Linked DNA regions of Homo sapiens: regions 2, 3 and 4 are each linked to region 1. Evidence: promoter capture Hi-C in human tissues and cell types (Jung and others, 2019). All regions are on one chromosome and are shown on one strand. Each heading gives the region's core, a stretch centred on a gene start or on the middle of the fragment in contact. The rest is flanking DNA. Distances are from core to core; before and after follow the strand shown.

What was found. The method cuts DNA at HindIII sites, captures the fragments that hold promoters and counts their contacts. A contact is called where the count stands out against the background at its distance.
Region 2: a contact is called between a fragment that was not itself captured here and the fragment with the promoter of CACHD1 in region 1, in 1 of the 25 tissues and cell types used here (bladder).
Region 3: a fragment that was not itself captured here is called in contact with the fragment with the promoter of CACHD1 in region 1 in 1 of the 25 tissues and cell types used here (bladder).
Region 4: a contact is called between a fragment that was not itself captured here and the fragment with the promoter of CACHD1 in region 1, in 1 of the 25 tissues and cell types used here (aorta).

The regions. Positions count from the first base shown.
Region 1 is chr1:64,468,515-64,471,519 of GRCh38, forward strand. It overlaps CACHD1 (cache domain containing 1), which reads left to right and starts at 1,615. Exons shown (of 27, transcript NM_020925.4): 1 at 1,615-2,428. The coding sequence starts at 2,231. It overlaps LOC107984966 (a long non-coding RNA gene), which reads right to left and starts at 1,511. Exons shown (of 2, transcript XR_001738100.2): 1 at 672-1,511. RefSeq lists a silencer at 1,825-1,944. The HindIII fragment of the contact is 8,534 bases long and covers 1-3,005 here.
Region 2 is chr1:64,839,405-64,842,409 of GRCh38, forward strand. JAK1 (Janus kinase 1) reads right to left here. Exons shown (of 25, transcript NM_002227.4): 18 at 2,047-2,197; 19 at 1,841-1,935; 20 at 199-391. Among named protein-coding and RNA genes, the nearest start is that of RAVER2, 96 kb to the left of the region's middle. The HindIII fragment of the contact is 3,854 bases long and covers 1-3,005 here.
Region 3 is chr1:64,752,322-64,755,326 of GRCh38, forward strand. All of the region lies in intron 1 of RAVER2 (ribonucleoprotein, PTB binding 2), which reads left to right. Among named protein-coding and RNA genes, the nearest start is that of RAVER2, 8.7 kb to the left of the region's middle. The HindIII fragment of the contact is 3,115 bases long and covers 70-3,005 here.
Region 4 is chr1:64,734,683-64,737,687 of GRCh38, forward strand. No RefSeq gene overlaps it. Among named protein-coding and RNA genes, the nearest start is that of RAVER2, 8.9 kb to the right of the region's middle. The HindIII fragment of the contact is 4,782 bases long and covers 1-3,005 here.

The DNA of each region.
Region 1 (3,005 bases), core at 365-2,864:
GTAACCTTGAAGAATCAAATAAAAAAATAATGCTATATGTCATTATTATTTTTGTTCTTTACTCTTCCACTAATCACATGGACTAATATGCTTTCTCTTGCGGAGTGTCATGTCAAAGGTACAACAATTTAAAAAACGGAAGTTAAAGGATCATCTTTCTAACAAATGTCAGCTCAACTCCAGGAATAGAAGACATACAGGTAGGTTTTTACCTCATTATTAACTCAAGAATCATTTTTCCAGTACTACTATGTGCTTGTGTGGATGATGTGGAGGTGAAGGGATTGGTCCCCACACTCAACATGCTTGCCTTAGTATGTAAAACAAACATCACAGGCTAGGCGCAGTGGCTCATGCCTGTAATCTCAGCACTTTGGGAGGCCGAGGCAGGTGGATCACCTGAGGTCAGGAGTTTGAAACCAGCCTGGCCAACATGGCGAAACCCTGTCTCTACTAAAAATACAAAAATTAGCAGGGGAGTTGAGAATGGAGAAGTGATCTCAATGAGGTAAAAATGGGCCAGGGAGAGCTTACAAGAGAAGATGACTTTTTAATACAATATAGTCAAAGATGTAAAACAGAAGGTTTTGCTGTAAAATGAAAAGAGTCCTAAATCCAGGTTCTAATCCTGCTACCACCTCTGCTAGGTAACCCTGGACTAGTCCTTTAACCTTCCAGTGTTGGCTCTGTTCTCCAGGAACCTGCAAGCAGCAACCACACAGGGCTTGGAAGGGAGAGTGGCTGTTCTCCACACACAGCAGGTTGACTTGTTCCAGGTGCTTCCAACAGGTGATTTCTCAGCGAGCCTGAGCCAGTAGTCAGGGACAAACAGGAAGGTTAACCTTGCCTCTCCATGCTTGGGAGAACAGGTGTGTGCGCGGTGGACTCCGGTTCAGTCGTTCTTTTTCTTTTTTCTTGCTTTTGATGGGATCAGATGGTTCATTTCCAAAGAGAGACAGAGAGAACTGTATCGTATTTAGGAGCAATAGCCTTGGAGTAAGACTTGTGCTTAAACTCTGGATTTGTTTCTTATCCCCTGGGTGACCTCTGGCAATTTATTCCACCTCTCTAAGCCTCAGTCTTTGTTACCTAAAAAATTGGGATAAAGATACGTACCTCCTATGGCATGTCGCGGAGATTAAAGGATAATGTGCACACCCCCGAGCCCAGTGCCGGGCACACGGTGGCTGGTTGCAACAGAAATCTGTGGGTGGAACGCTAGCTAGCCATTGTGATGAATAACATCAAGGAGAGGGAGTGGACCTACACATGGCAGTCCCCTTCTTCCCCAACCGCTGCCAGGCAGACAGCCAGCGTCCTAGAACTTAAAGGACTTTTCGATGGCTGGAACCTGGGCCGGGTGGGCTCCCTGGCGCGGACGGAGGCGGGGAGCGCTGGCGGGGGTCTCCGTCTCCAGCCACGGGAAGGTCCGTGGGCTCCCCTGCCCGGGCTGGGCCGGTCCCCGAGCAGAGAGAGAGGCTGGTCCCCCGGCCCCCGGCGTCCCGGGGGGCAGGTTCTGAGGCGGGAGCCAGGGAGAGAGAGGAGGGGCAACCGGGGGAATTTCCCCGCCTCTCTTGCTGGTTCCATAAATCACCGCAGCCGCCGCGGCGGCCCAGCCGGGAAGTGCACAGAGCCGGAGCGCAGCGTGGTGGCACCAGACGCCTCCCTTTCCCCACCGCTTGCTTTCTTTCTTTCAGTTGTGTGGGTTTGTGAAGCCTCCCCTTTCCCTCCTCGCTCGGGTGGCTGCCCCAGTCTCGCAGCCCGGCCGCCGCTCCTCTTCCCCGGGGGCCGCCGTCAGTCCTCGCCGCCGCCTGCTCGCTGCGCTGGGACTCGCAGGAAGCGAGAGCCGCGCGGCTCGGCTCGGGCTCCGACTCCGACTCCGATTCCGACTGTCAGCCCCGGGGCCCGCGCACCCCGGCCTGCGGGCGCCCCTGCTCTCGGAGACGCCCTCTGCGCCGCGGGGCCCGTGTGGGCGCCGGGCTCCGGGGACCGCTCGGGCGGCCGCCTCCTACCCCCACCGCCGCGGAGCCCCGCGATGGTGGCCGCCCGCGCTCCCGCGCTGTAGCCGGGCGCCCCCTAAGTTTGGGAGCCTTCGCCACCGCGGCGCGGAGCAGAGCCTGCAACAGAGGAAGAAACTTTTGCGGGGTGCGCCGCGCTTTTGCGGGGGGCACCTCCCGCGGCCCGCTTCCCCGCGCCCGGAGCCCGTCGGCGGGGAGTGGGGGGAGGCAGCATGGCCCGCCAGCCGGAGGAAGAGGAGACGGCCGTGGCCCGGGCGCGGCGGCCGCCCCTCTGGCTGCTCTGCCTGGTCGCGTGCTGGCTCCTGGGCGCCGGGGCCGAAGCCGACTTCTCCATCCTGGACGAGGCGCAAGTGCTGGCGAGCCAGATGCGGAGGCTGGCGGCCGAGGAGCTGGGGGTCGTCACCATGCAGGTAAGTGGCCCCCGAGCTGGCCAGACATCCCGCCTTTCTCCTTTGCTCAAACTCCCATCCCACTCCCGGTACAAGTCCCCTGGACTGTGTGCATCGGCTCCTTGCATACATAGAGCCCGGCTTCCCGTCGGACCCCTCTGTCCTCTGCACAGACCCCCTGACAATACACCAACTCTTCTTCCATGCATTCGTCTACCCCTGCCCTTCTCTGGAGAATCCCCTGCCCTCTGCACGGAACCCACTTGACCCTGCACAGCCCCCCTCTTCTGAGTACCAGCGCCTTCATCTCGTCAAGGATTCTCCAGTTTCCTCGCACGTCTTCTCTAATTTGCACACATTTCCCATGTAGGCTTGTTTTCACCCTGCCACGCCTGCAAACTCCCCCTTTGTGTCCCCATCCCAGAGCAGCCAGCCCCGTCTGGCTCGGACGATTTTCCGAAGTCCCCACCCCACCCCCTTGACCGCGTCCTCGCGTCCTCGCGTCCTCCCTACCGAGGCGCACCAATGGGCGCCGGGAGGGAAGGCGCCGCAGAGTACGCAGCTGCCCCGGGGACACCTAGGTCCCGGCGGAGAGCGG
Region 2 (3,005 bases), core at 178-2,677, 370 kb after region 1:
CCTGGGTGGCCTCCTCAGGAGCCCTGCAGCTGCTGAGGGATTTGACATATGACTTGGAAGCCTTGAGAGTGTGTGGGAACCACCAGCTAGCATGTCAGACGCCCAGGTAAGGCCACGGAGTGCCTGTTTTGCACTGGCCTTTATGACCCTAGACAGTCACCAAATCTTTAAACCGGACCCCAGCCTTGCATAACATACCGTCTTCTGTGCAGATTCCTTTGTACTTCACAATGTTCTCATGATAGAGGTTCCTTAAGATCTCGATTTCCTTTTTCAGATCAGCTATGTGGTTACCTCCACTCTCAGGCTTCAGAGATTTAACAGCCACCTGCTCCCCTGTATTGTCCCCTTCGGGGTCATACCTGCAGAGCTCAACCTTCCCAAAGTGGCCCTGGAGGGAAAGATGCATGTGCTGTTATCAGGGAAGCCCCATCGTAGGCCACGGAACACACAGAAGTCTTGCTCCTCACAGCCGTTCCCCTGAGGGCCAGGGGTTCTCGCTGTCTGGCCTTGCAGGCAGAAGCCTCTCACCTGGACTGTACTTGCTCACTACAGCCCCCTCGCTCTCTTGGCCTCACAAACTGTCCCCTCAGTTACTGAGCCAAGACAAAGTAGCAGGTGACGATGAACCAACTCATCAATCCCAATTTCTATGACCACAGGAAATGAAGGTTATTTCTGGGCCTGCAGGACAACTGCCGTTCTCTAAAAGCCCTGGGCTCACGTTACAGGACAGGCCCCACAGCATGGCTGAAAAGAGCAAATGCATGAGGAGTCTTTAGAAGACGTGAGATCAGGTTCCAGCCAAGCCACCTGACAGCGACAGTGGTGGCCAAGTCCCCAAATCGGAGCTGGCTCCTGATGCACTCGCTGCATACAGAAACTGGCCTCGGGGACGGTGGGGGGAACTAAGGATGCCATGCTTCTGACAATGCCTGGCACAGTGGCTGGCACACAGCAGATCCTGGAGATGTATCAAGTCTGTTTCATTAACCAGACTACAGAAAATCTGTATAAAGACACAAATCTCAGTAGCTTCTCTAGTCACAATTAACTGTTTGGAAACTCCCATTTAAGGTCCAAAGAAACGCTGACACTCTATTTTGGGATTCTGTGCAATAAACCTATCCCTGCTCTAAAGAGCCTTACAGGGCTGGGTATGGTGGCTTATGCCTATAATCCCAGCACTTTGGGAGGCCTCCTTGCTTGAGGCCAGGAGTCTGAGAGCAGCCTAGTCAACATAGCAAGACCCCATTTCTACAATAAAAAATAAAAAATATTAGCCAGCATGGGGGCGTGTGCCTGTAGTTCCAGCTACTCAGGAGGCTGAGGCAGGAAGATTGCTTGAGCCTGGGAAGTTGAGGCTGCAGTGAGCTATGATCACACCACTCACTCCAGCCTGGGACACAGAGCGAGACCCTGTCTCTCGGGGGCAAAAGAAAAAGAGAGAAGCTTACAGGATATATATGCCCGGGAAAGTCAGAGGCAAGGATTTTCCTATTCCACCATATCTATACCTACTCCCCCATCTCTCCCTCTTTCCATTCTCTTCTGTCCTGTAGAGAAAACTCAAGTCTCTCAAGGGAGCTGCCCAGAGTCCCGTGTGCATACACAGTCGTGCATGCAGGCAGGGACGTGCATTCCGTCCGTGCCGTGTGTCACATGGAGAAAGACACAATCCCTTGTGATGAAAGTGGCCCCCAAATGCAGTAAGGTGCTTTCGCTCATGGACCTGGCCCCAGAATGAAAAAGAATGGAGAGCAGCTGTACGTGCAGAGAGTGGCGCTGTGGATGGCGGAGGGCTCTGCCATCAGCAGCAAGCAGCACGGGTGTAACTTACCTCTCCCAAGTCACGGATCCTCTTTAGGAAGCGCTTTTCAAAATGTGTGGGGTCCACTTCAGTTGCTGGTTTTTTTTCTGAAACAATATCTGGATCTAACAGAAGAGAAAAGAAAACAGAGTGAAAGGCAGTCGATTGCCAGGGATTGCCACCCAGGCTCCTGTTTCTCCCCAAGCTGGGTTAAAGCAGCACATGGCAGGTCTTACTCTGCTCTTCAAGCTTATTAATGTCTCTCATGATGGCTCGGAAGAAAGGCCTCTGATTGGGGTCATAGTTCATGCAGCGGGTCATGAGGTCAGCCAGCTCCTTACATGATGGTGTCACTGGCCTGCACCGGCTTTCATAGAATCTCTCTTTCTGTAAACAAGAGGGGCACATGGAAGAAACCAAAGGAACCACCTACAAACTTCTCAGCCCCAGGTCAGGTGGAATTGCCAATTCCTCATTCGATTCTCAACATCTCCACTTACAGGTAGATTTCGTAAGTGTTTGTTACTGCTGCCTTATTCTTGCAAGGGGAAATCACAGTCCTAATACTGAATAGTCCAAATTCAAGGAGACTGGGCACTATAGCCCAGTCCCAAAAAGCTTCATTCAAGTAAAGGCATGCAGCCTTTCTGGAATACAATTGGGCAACATGTACAAAAATCTTCAGATTCTTCAAACCCTCTGATGCATTAACTTCAATGACTGAATGACTCAGAAATAAATCAGATATGAACAAATATTTATGTACAAGGATGTTTCCTGCAGAATTAGACAGAACACTGGAAATTTGAAAACTTAAATGCCAAATATAAAATTAGTCAAGTAAATTAAACAAAACAATTAACTCTTACATTAAATTTGTAAAAATTATGATTTAATCTCACAGGAAAGCATTCTCAGTATTAAATGAAAAAACTCAGAATTTTATATAACTCTATCTAGCATGGCCCCAATTTTGTTTAAAAAAGAGAGATACAAACAGGCTGGAAGACAAAATGCCAAAGTGTTAACAGTGGTCAGGGATGACAAGAATGCAGTGATTGCTGTTTTCTTTTTTTAATAGTTTCATTTTAAAAATTTTCTTCAACTGTTTATTACTTTAAATTTTAGAAACAAGAACTTATGCTACTTTTGGAAGATGAAGTGAAACCACTGCATTCCAGTTTCTACTTCATAG
Region 3 (3,005 bases), core at 377-2,876, 280 kb after region 1:
AAGTCGGTTTCTATCCAGTGGCTCCCTCCATACCACCCAGCTCTCCTGGTTATCATAACCATTCTTCTTGTCTCTTTGGGTCCAGGAGGAGTACAGGAATGTTGCTAGCCTAGGATTTCTTCAAATCTTTGTAGATAGTCTCTTTTAAAAGTTCTCCCCAGTTAGTTTCTGAGTGTGCCTTCTGTTACTTGCTGGGGCCCTGATTCTGTTGCCTACTCAGTTGCCTTTCTTCCTCTTGCCTGTCCTAATTACACCCAGATTTCCCCTTGAAGACCTACCTCTTTTTTAGCAACTGTATGATTTGGGTGGATTTCATCTCTATCCCCATCTGTAGGGGTGACATAAACCAAAGAACACAGTTCTTCCCTTTTTCGAGAGGGATTGGTTAAAGACGGGCAATAACCTGGACCAAAGCCCATCAATACATGATAGCCCCTTGGTCATAGTGATTATTTCAGCCTGGCTTAGCAGACAAACTTAGGACTTGTGTTTGGTTGTTAAAGTAAGTGAATCTCTTTCTCTCTGCTGGATATGAATGCAGAGACATATGGCTCTGGCTGCAGCTGACAGTCATTAAGGGAGCAGACATGCAAAGGAGGACTGACCTTGGAGGGGAAATGTAGAGAAGCTGAGCTGGAGCCCTGATCGAACTATATCTGAAGCTTAACCTGCCTCTGGACTTCATATATATGCAAGCCACTAAATCCCTTTTATTGTTTCACTTATTTCAAGTTGGATCTTTTGTTACTACCAACCAATAGTATCCCAGATTAACAGGTTGGAGTACAGTGGCACAATCATGCCTCACTGCAGCCTCGACCTTCCTCGCTCAAGCAATCCTTCTACCTCAGTCTCCTGAGTATCTGGGACCACAGATGCATATAACCATGCTGGCTAATATTTTGAATTTTTTTCTAGAGAGGGGATTTTGCCATGTTGCTCAGGCTGGTCCCAAACTCCTAGGCTCAACCAATCTGCCCTGCTTGGCCTCCCAAACTGTTGGGATTATAGGTGTAAGCCACCATGTCTGGCTTTTTTTAAAAAAAATATTTTTGTTTCAAAGAAATCCCCACAAATAAGGTATCCTATTCCATCTTCAGACAGCTTTCTTTGTTATAAAGGTCTTATTTATGTGTAATATATACAATGTATTCACTTGAAGTCTTGATCCAACGTCTACCCTCTGGCAATGTATAGAATTCTTTTTTTTTTTTTTTTTTTTTGGAAACGGAGTCTCACTCTGTTGCCCAGGCTGGAGTGATCTCGGCTCACTGCAACTGTAACCTCCGCCTCCCAGTTTCAAGTGATTCTCATGCCTCAGCCTCCCGAGTAGCTGGGATTACAGGCGCCCGCCACCACACCTGGCTAATTTTTGTATTTTTAGTAGAGACAGGGTTTCACCATGTTGGTCAGGCTGGTCTCAAACTCCTGACCTTGTGATCTGCCCACCTCGGCCTCCCAAAGTGCTGGGATTACAGGCGTGAGCCACCGTGCCCGGCCTCTCATTTTTAACTTATAACTTAAATTCCTTCAAATGACTAGTTTTTAGGACATGATTCCAAGTTTCCTCGCCATCTCATTTATTTTTCTCTGAATACACATCATTACCACTTTGTCATTGTATCTTTTAAAATATGGTACCCAAAATTGAGTATGGTAGTCTAGTTGAGATCTCCCTGTAATCCCCAGCCAGAACAAATTTCTCTTTCCTCTGGATGTCTATAATAATAATAACCTTTGTTTTTTGGGGGCCTACCATTGCCAGGCACCATACTTAGAGTTGTTTAATATTATATTTAATCCTCATTTTAAGACTATAAGATTGGAATTTCTTATTCCCATTTGATTGCTAGAGAAACAAAGATGCAAAATTAATGTCAAACAATTTGCCCAAGATCATTCAGCTAATTGGTGGTAGAGTGGAGAACCAATTCTGTTTGATTCCAAAGCTTATATCCTTATCTCCCATTGTATTATAATTCCTCTCTATGCAGCTATATTGTTAGTGTTTCAAAGGGCAAGGATCATGTTGTGTTTACCTTTGTATCCTCAACCTGTAACCTAGAAACTGACACATTGTTTGAAGAGAAATGTAAAAGAAGCGGACTACCCACCTACCTTGTTCTAAAATGCTATATTTCCATTGAGACGTCTGACCCCCGGCACACTCTCAGGATTGATTTGTTAATAAATTTTGCAATGTACCACTCTGTTAGCTTTTTTGGCAGGGAACTCTCTCCATTCACTTATAATTATTCAATCAGTCAACTGTTTATGGCTTAAGAGTCTGTTGAAAGCTGTAAACCCTCCAAGAAAGTGCTAATATTCATAAGCACACAAAATTTGCATATTATTTCAAGGGGGTATGGATCTCTTATAGCTTATCCCTGATTTCATTAGGGGATTGTAGACCCTAGGTTGAAAAGTGCTGTTGCAGGTCAACAAAATTTTAGTCATGTCTTTGGGACTTTACCTGAGTAGGGACCATTTGGGCAGATCCAAAGCTGTTGCTTCAGTAGAGTTTTCATCAGAAACTTCTGTAGGCCACGTTTATGCATGAGGGTTTGGGTAGTGATCCTTTATCTGGGCAAGAATATAAATCAGGCTCAATAATTTTCTTTTTAAACAAATCAACCATGCGACTTCATGTTTGATGCAAAAGCTTATTGCTCTCTAGTCACTCAGCAGCCCACAACTGACATTTTAGGTTCTGTGCCTGGCCCAGAGTGGATGCTCAACAAAGTAAATTTTTAAAGAGGTTTTCAAGAAGTTACAATGTAATATTTCCTCCTTAACATTTATTAAAAGTCAAACATTGATACAAAGAATGTTTTTCTTTAAAACAAATCAAGAATATTATCCATTCTGTTTAATGTCTTCACAATAAGTATCCTGATTTCTTAGTAAGAAAATAAGTTTCTCTTTTGTTAGATTTTAGGGGTGCAACTCATTGTGAGCCCCTAAACTTGTCTTCTAGGTATTTGGAGCTTAATTTTATGTTTATT
Region 4 (3,005 bases), core at 1-2,500, 270 kb after region 1:
GTAGGTACAGCCACTAGCTGGAGGCTGCTGGCCAACTACACTCAGACGGCGTGTTCTCTAGAAGGGAGAGAGGCCTGAGTATGAATGCTGCAGATCTGTAGGTACAGCCACTAGCTGGAGGCTGCTGGCCAACTACACTCAGACGGCGTGTTCTCTAGAAGGGAGATCTGAAGGGTACACCTACACAATCAAGTCTAAGCGGCAGGAGCAGTAAATTAAGCCAAGGCCAGGAAGCCAGCTGGAAAATGGGATGGGAGCCTGCAAAGGGGCTCCCATTGTAGGTAATAAGCAAAGGCATGCGCAAATTCTACCTTTATTTACATGTGCATGGCTGTAGTGGGTGGGTTTAGTGTATGGGTGTATGGACTGGTTTAATGTTACAACAAGCATGAAGGAGTTCATGTGAGTACATGGACAGCCATGAGAAATGTGCATTGATAAGGAAGGAGACAAAAAAAATCTATAAAAAGCAGACACAAGAATAAAGAGGGTATAGCTTTATGGAGCCATTTAATATACGAAAAAATCACACTATAATCCTCAGTATACCCAGAGGGCAATCACTGTATTACTGGAATCATCACGAAAGGGCAATTCAAGTTGAATATCATCTATTTCAGGAGGTAAATATGTACACCTTAATATGTGTTATTTTAAAAGAGTTTCAACAAAATGGTTTTTAATGTCACATGCTTAAATGGTAAGTCCCTCCATCCTATACAAAATTTTTATAATTTAAAAAGACTTATTTCCCTGCTGGATAGCTGGGTTGTACTTTATTACCTTTCAAACATTCATGCTGCCTGCTCCATGGTTTTTTCTATAATTTTATAGCTTCCATTCTGCCAGTTTTATAAATTACATTTCTGATAGAAAGTACACTACTCTCTTAGACTGCCACAATTCAGAAAGCAAGTGCCAAAAGAAACTAAACTTTAATGTCCAAGAGAACAATTCTTTTTGTGTCATTTCATACAATTCAAGGTTCAAGGGAAATGTTCGTGGTTTGCATATTTATAATTTTTATAATACCTTCCATAACTGTACAAATAAAAATAAATGTAAATCTGTATCAGAGTAAGGGCTTAAAATATTTTTAAGGTATGTTTAGATTATGACAAGTGAAAAGTCTATGAGTGACACTCTGTGGCTAAATTTAAACTAAGAAAAGTCATTTGTATTAAGTAACATCATTTAGTTGTAAGTACTCACAGGCACTGTGTTTTATGGCATAAAGTTAGATATGAGGCCATGACTGCAGTTAAATTTTGAATAGCAGAAATTTAATTCCTCTGTTATCATCAGCACCACCATCAATTCATCTTCCTCATCATCGTTACTATTACTATATACTTATATATAAATAATAATATTTATACTACTACTACTATCATCACATCTATACTTTCACATTCCCCTTGGTGGCTCTAAATCTGAAAGCAGTAAGAAAAGCAGAGAATGTGGGAACAGACCTGGGTTTGAGTTCTAAATTTGCTTCATACTGGCTGTATGACTTTAGGCAGTTTTCTTAACTTCATTATGTCAGGAGACTTGTTTATAATGCAGGGATAATAATACCCACTCCAAACAGTGCTTGTGAGAATTAAATATATGTAAATCACCTATGAAGACAACAAATTTTAATGTCCTGCTAAAATCTCCCCACTATCAGAGGATGATTCCTTCTGCTTCTGGAGAAAATTAGAATGTTTAAAGTTTATTGAACTTTTTTTTAATAGGTCACTCTCCCTATTCTCTCCCCTTCAATAAACACGCTTGTTTATTGAAGTTGCTCTCATTCAAAGGCACCAGAAGCTTCCTAATGGCCAAATCCAGTTATAGTCATGCACTGCTTAATGACGTTTCAGTCAACAATGAACCACATGTAGGAAGGTGGTCCCATAAGATTATAATGGAGCTGAAAAATTCCTACCACCTAGTGATGTCCCAGCTGTCCTACAGTCATAATACAATGCATTACACATGTGTTTGTGGTGATGCTGTTGTAAATAAACATACTCCTCAAGAAGAGCCCCAGGCAGGTCCTTCGGGAGGTATTCCAGAAGAAGGCATTGCTGTCATAGGAGATGACAGCTCCACGCCTGTTATTGCCCTGAAGATCTTCCAGTGGGACAAGATGTGTGGGCAGAAGACAGCGGTATTGATAATTCTGCTCCTGAGGAGGCCTAGGCTGTTGTGTGTGTTTGTGTTTTTAAAAACACTTAAAAAGTAGAATAAATAAATAAATTTTAAATAGAAAAAAGCTTACAGAATAAGGATATAAAGAAATATTTTTTGTATAGCTGTACCATGTGTTGTTTTAAGCTAAGTGTGTTACAAGAGAGTAAAAAGGTTAAACAATTTTAAAGTTTATAAAGTAAAATAGTTATAGTAAGCTAAGTCTATTATCAAAGAAAGAAAATTAAAAAAATTAGTGTAGCCTAAGTATACAGTAGTTATAAAGCCTACAGTGTACAGTCATGTCCTAGGCCTTCACATTCACTCACCTCCCATCACTCACTCACCCAGAGCTTCCAGTCTTGCAAGCTCTATGCATGGCGAGTGCCCTATACAGGTATGCCATTTTCTTATCCTTTATATCATATATTTGCTGTATTTTCTCCTTGTTTAAATATGTTTAGATACACAAATACTTACCATTGTGTTATAATAGCTTACAGTATTCAGTATGGTAACATGTTGTACAAGTTTGTAGCCTAGGAGCAATAGTCTATGCCATATACCCTAGGTGTGGAGTAGGTTACCATATATACCTAGGGTATACCATATACCCTAGGTTTGTGTATGTACATTCTGTGATGTTTCCACAGCAATGAAATTGCCTGATGATGCATTTCTCAGAACATATCTCCTTCGTGAAGAGATGCATGATTGTATCTCCTTTATAGTCCTCATTCTATTTGTCCTCTCTGCTGCATGGATGTATTAACCACTCTCCTTGAAACTTTTTGTTCCTTGGCTTCTCTGAAGCCACTCTTTCTTTG